2 separate regions of the Homo sapiens genome follow, and region 2 is linked to region 1. Evidence: promoter capture Hi-C in 16 types of primary human blood cells and fetal thymus (Javierre and others, 2016). All regions are on one chromosome and are shown on one strand. The core of a region is centred on a gene start or on the middle of the fragment in contact, and the rest is flanking DNA. Distances in the headings are between cores, read along the strand shown.

Region 1 (2,869 bases), core at 206-2,705:
TCCCAGCTCCTTGGGCGGCTGAGGCAGGAGGATTGCTTGAGCCCAGGAGGTCAAGGCTGCAGTGAGCTATGACCACTCTACTCCAGACTGGGTAACAGAGCGAGACCCTTTCTCTAAAAACAAGAAAAAATTAAAACCCAGTTCTCCTTTAGCGACATCTTGTAGCCACTAGCCTGACATTTTAAACACATAAATTAGAAACATGATGCAAGAGTGATTCAAGGTATTTTATATAGGAAATGCCTGGTGTAGTGTCTTGGACAGCTAAATAAAGGTAGCTGTTAAAACATTAGTTTTATTCTATGCTCTTACCATTCCTCCCTCTCCAAGTTTTGTTTGTAGTCTGTGGCAGCAACCTAGTCTGTATTTAGTACACATTGAATAATCAACAATGAAATGTAAATATTGAGCACATTGTGTGTCAAACACATGTATTAACTCAAACCTCACAGAAACCCTTTGAGGTCGGTACTATTAACAATCCCCATTTTACATACGAGTAAACTGAAGCATGGATAGACTAAAGTAAAGTGCCTGAGGTCAACTAGTGAGGAGGCGGAGTGGCAGTCAAGTCGAGGCAGCCTAAGCCTACACTGCCTCTATGTTGCATTAATAAATTAATAAATCTGTGACCAAATAAATGAAGTGACATTTAGTAGCATCGAAAGATCCCGTGAGTAGGACTTCCTAAGAATGCTCTCCTTCTTTTCATGGACAAAATTTTAGTCTGTTTAAAATAAATTTTGGACCGGACACCGTGGCTCACGCCTGTAATCCCAGTACTTTGGGAGGCCGAGGCAGGTGATCACTTGAGGTCAGGAGTTCGAGATCAGCCTGTCCAACATGGTGCAACCCTGTCTCTACGAAAAATACAAAAATTAGCTGGGTATGGTGGCGCGCGCCTGTCATCCCAGCTACTCAGGAGGCTGATGCAGGAGAACTGCTTGAACCCCGGAGGCGGAGGTTGCAGTGAGCCAAGATCTCGCCATTGCACCCCATCCTGGGCGACAGAGCGAGACTCCGTCTCAAAGAATAAATAAATAAATTAATTAATTAATTTTGAAAACCTGTCAGCACTCATCAGAGCTTTACACTGCTGTACTCGGGACACTTGGGGCCGTAGACAAGCAATTAAATTGACTCACACGTGGTTAGAACCACGTCATCCTGATTCGTGAATCCGTACTCTCAACTACTAGAAGCCCTTTGTGGAATGCTCGGGGCGAACCTGACGCTTGAGCTCTGACACCACGCAGACACAGCCGGGGATTTAGGAGCTGGGTAGGGACTCCTGGGCCGGATGCCTCATCCCGGCATGCACCTCAAGCCCCGGTGACCACGCCTTCCGGCGAGCGCCAGGGAGCGCGTGTGCGCCTCGCCGCCCGGAAGCGCCGGCCGCTCCCTGCATGCTGGGAGTTGTAGGCCTCCGGCGTCAGCCCGCGGGCTGCCGCCCGCACTCTCCAAGAGACTGCTGGCGCCGGCGCCCGCCCGCGCGGCACCGACGCGGGGAGCGCGCTTCGCGCTGACTCAGCGGCGGCGGCGGCTGCGGCGGCGGCGGCGGCGTTAGCCGGCCCTCGCGCTCTTTCCCTTCCTGGGGCGCCGACCCCGCCCGCTTGCTTGCTTGCTTGCTTGCCTGCCTGCCTGCCTGCCCGGCGCCACGCAAGAGAAGGTGCCAGGGGACGCAGAGCGACTAGAGGCGCGCGGTCCCGGCCAGCACCGTCTCTGGCGTTGTAGCTGCGGCCGTGGCGGAGGACTACGGCGACAAGGACGAGGGCCGCTCTCCCAGCTCTCTGCGTGCCGCGCCGCTCCGCTCCGCTGGCTGACCATCTGGAGTGCAGGCTGGGAGGCGGGATGGAGTGATAGGGAAGGTGACTCGGGGCTCGGGGGCAGCGGGACCGGGACCAGGTTTGGTCCGCGTGAGGCTTCGAGGAAGTTGGCCGGGGCGGACCGGCCCGGGGGAGTCCCGACGCCAGGGAGGGTGCAGGCTTGGGACCCTCTATGGCGGTGCACCCCCTGGCTGGGCGGACCGGGTGGGGGTGGGTACGAGCCGGGGCCGCCGCCGAGGAGCGCGTCCCGAGTGCGTGGCCGGCGGTTGCTTGGTGTTTCATCACCCGAATTGCCACGAGGCTTCCTTTAGGGGAGGGATCGGGGGAGGGATGGGAGCAAGGCTAGCAGAGGAGGGTCGGCATCGCCTGTGGTTCCGAAGCCCGTTAGTCATCGTTGTAGCGTTATCAACTGTGGAGACCTCAAACTTGATTCTTCCCCCACCCCTGGACAAAAAGGAAAAGTGTTATTTCTGTGCAGTAATTGGCCAGCACGGACGCTCCATTTCTTCTCAAACCTTCCTCACCATCCTGCAGGACTAGAGAAGCATGAGGTTTCCCTGTAACCAGAAAAACGAGTACTTTTTGAAAGTGCTAATTAGTTGTGGCGGGCGGGGGTTGGGGGAGAGTTACGTTTTATTAAACCGACTTGTCAGCGTGGTGTTAAAAGGCTGGAAAGATTCAGTCGTAGTATTTGAAACAGTCTTCAGTAGGTGTAGAGGAATTTTTCCAAATTGTTTGATTCTTAATGGCTATCCAGGAAAAGTTAAGGCTTAATATTTTAAGTATGTTGCTTGCCTTCCCCCAAGAACCTTTGCAAGATGCATAATTGTTTACCGTATTGAAACATTTTTTGGGGTTTTGTTGTTGTTGTTTTGAGACGGAGTCTCGCTCGGTCGCCCAGGCTGCAGTGCAGTGGTGCCATCTCGGCTCACTGCAACCTCTGCCTCCCAGGTTCAAGTGATTCTGCAGCCTCAGCCTCCCGAGTAGCTCTATTACAGGTGCGCCCCGCCACACCTGGCTACTTTTTGTATTTTTCGTAGAGA
Region 2 (2,869 bases), core at 246-2,745, 770 kb after region 1:
TGAGATTACAGGCGCCTGCCACCACGCCCGGCTAATTTTTTTGTATTTTTAGTAGAGACGGGGTTTCACCATGTTGGCCAGGCTGGTCTCAAACTCCTGACCTCGTGATCCGTCCCCTGACCCCCGCCCCCCGCCCCGCCTCCCAAAGTGCTAGGATTACAGGCGTGAGCCACCGCGCCCGGCCGTATTTATGCTTTTGACTAACGTTTTTCTGTACAGGTGTATAGGGTAATGTAATAGGTAAAATAACTCATTCAACAACAAAAAATTATTGTAGTATTTTGTAGCTACTAGGATTGAAGTACTAAAGAATTGTCTGTCTGCCAAGGTTTGGGGAAATGGGAAAATGGGACAAGATCTTCACCACATGGGGCACATTTCACCTCTCTGGGATTCATTTCCTATTCTGTAAATGGCAGAGTTGGGGTTCCAGGTCTTGTCCTTGTTTTTTTGACTTTGTGTGAAGGTTTCTCCACCTCACCTGGCACTAGTCTTATTTCAAAATATTCATCTCATACTATCCTCTCTTTGCAATTCTTTAATTCATTCAACAAATATTTATTGAGCTTCTACTAGTATTGTGAGTAACAGAAGCAAGGTTCCTCCACACATGGAGCTTATTATAGTCCAAAAGGATAGGACAATAAATAATTTTGAAAGTAAACAAATATTTATTAATAACTGATAAATAACTATTGGTTGGAAAGGTGCTAAGAAGGAAATAAATAGGATCATGTGTTATGTCTCTGAGAGTCTTAGAATGAAGCAGACAAGCTCTTTCACTTTCAAGTGCTGACGTAGTAAAGTCATTAGGTTTCAAAAAAGGAAAAAAAGATAATATCTTACAATTAACTAATGAATGAACAGCCATTACGCTAGAAGAAAATTGTATTGTGATTGGTGTACTCCGTATCTTCTCAGAATGAGAGAGGTGAGGCTTCTCAAAAAGAGCAGCGAGAGAAAGTCACTTAAAAATTTTTTTTTTTTGGTAGGTCAAGCTAAAGACGAACTGAAAATAGACAACCTGAAGTCAGACGGGAAAGCTGCCAATCTAGTCTGGCCAGCAGAATTTCTTTCAGTAGGTCTAGGCTCCCTCGGCATTGGGAATCCAGATGTAAAGAAAACTTACGCCATAAACTTCAAGGTAGATTTCAGTTATTACTGCCCGGTGGCAGGAACCTAGGAAGGTGAGGTCAAGGTGTGGTTTAGTAAGAGACAGCTCCCGGGAACGGCACTTGGAAGGGCAGGGCGGAGAACAGCTGGAGATGAGATAGAGAGCAGGGGGAGAATGCGCCGACACCTCAAGGTGAGAGAGTAGAAACAGTCTCCGCCGTGGGAGCCGCGCGCTGCTCAGGTGGCTCTTTCCCGCTCAGGTGAGCTCCTCCCGCGCCTCCCATTGGCCGAGATGCCCGCGGCGCTGGGAGGGCGACGCAGCGCGGTCTAGTTCAGGGTCTAGGGCGGCGCGTCACTTCCGGTAGCGCGGAGCTTGTAAAACACCCTGGAGAGAAAATGGCGGCGGCAGCAGCTTCGGCGCCTCAGCAGCTCTCGGATGAGGAGCTTTTCTCTCAGCTCCGCCGTTACGGCCTGTCTCCCGGACCAGTGACGGAGAGCACCCGCCCGGTCTACCTCAAGAAGCTGAAGAAGCTTCGAGAGGAAGAGCAGCAACAGCACCGGTCAGGGGGCCGCGGCAACAAGACGCGGAACAGTAATAACAATAACACGGCAGCCGCCACGGTCGCAGCCGCGGGACCAGCGGCGGCGGCGGCCGCGGGGATGGGGGTCCGGCCGGTCTCGGGCGACCTCTCCTACTTACGGACTCCTGGGGGCCTGTGCCGAATCTCGGCCTCTGGCCCAGAGAGCCTCCTGGGAGGGCCCGGGGGCGCCTCCGCCGCCCCCGCGGCTGGCAGCAAAGTGCTGCTGGGCTTCAGCTCGGACGAGTCGGACGTGGAGGCCAGTCCCCGGGACCAGGCCGGCGGCGGCGGGAGGAAAGACCGGGCTTCGCTCCAGTACCGCGGGCTCAAAGCGCCGCCGGCGCCCCTGGCCGCCAGCGAGGTGACTAACAGCAACTCTGCAGAGCGAAGGAAGCCCCACTCGTGGTGGGGGGCCAGGAGGCCGGCGGGCCCCGAGCTGCAGACCCCGCCGGGGAAAGATGGAGCAGTGGAGGACGAGGAAGGGGAGGGAGAGGACGGTGAGGAGAGGGACCCGGAGACCGAGGAGCCGCTCTGGGCGAGCCGGACCGTGAATGGCAGCCGGCTTGTCCCCTACAGCTGCCGGGAAAACTATTCGGACTCAGAGGAAGAGGACGACGACGACGTGGCCTCCAGCAGACAGGTATTAAAGGACGACTCCCTTTCCCGGCATCGGCCCAGACGAACCCATAGTAAGCCTCTCCCCCCGCTGACTGCTAAATCGGCCGGCGGCAGGCTGGAGACTTCAGTTCAGGGAGGGGGAGGACTCGCGATGAATGACAGGGCGGCGGCTGCCGGGAGTCTAGACAGGAGCCGAAACCTCGAAGAGGCGGCGGCCGCGGAGCAGGGAGGAGGGTGTGATCAAGTGGACTCCAGCCCCGTTCCTAGATACCGTGTTAACGCTAAGAAACTGACCCCTCTCCTGCCCCCGCCACTTACTGACATGGACTCAACCTTGGATTCGTCAACAGGCTCCCTTCTGAAAACCAATAATCATATTGGCGGTGGGGCCTTCAGTGTGGACTCCCCCAGGATTTATTCTAACAGTCTCCCTCCCAGTGCGGCGGTGGCCGCCTCTAGTTCACTCAGGATCAATCACGCCAATCATACGGGCTCCAATCATACCTACCTGAAAAACACATACAACAAACCGAAGCTTTCCGAACCCGAAGAGGAACTTC

Evidence for each region. The method cuts DNA at HindIII sites, captures the fragments that hold promoters and counts their contacts. A CHiCAGO score of 5 or more calls a contact.
Region 2: a contact is called between the fragment with the promoter of LEMD3 here and the fragment with the promoter of XPOT in region 1, in 1 of 17 cell types (non-activated CD4 T cells). The highest score is 5.5, in non-activated CD4 T cells.

Annotation. Positions count from the first base shown.
Region 1 is chr12:64,402,937-64,405,805 of GRCh38, forward strand. XPOT (exportin for tRNA) reads left to right here and starts at 1,456. Exons shown (of 25, transcript NM_007235.6): 1 at 1,456-1,868. RefSeq lists enhancers at 1,031-1,080, 2,178-2,869 and silencers at 1,471-1,630, 1,961-2,070. The HindIII fragment of the contact is 10,073 bases long and covers 1-2,869 here.
Region 2 is chr12:65,168,088-65,170,956 of GRCh38, forward strand. LEMD3 (LEM domain containing 3) reads left to right here and starts at 1,496. Exons shown (of 13, transcript NM_014319.5): 1 at 1,496-2,869. The coding sequence starts at 1,510. It overlaps LOC124902953 (a long non-coding RNA gene), which reads right to left and starts at 1,329. Exons shown (of 2, transcript XR_007063349.1): 1 at 1,130-1,329. RefSeq lists enhancers at 1,014-1,073, 1,259-1,831, 1,514-1,663, 2,574-2,653 and silencers at 1,784-1,993, 2,377-2,580. The HindIII fragment of the contact is 1,790 bases long and covers 1-1,642 here.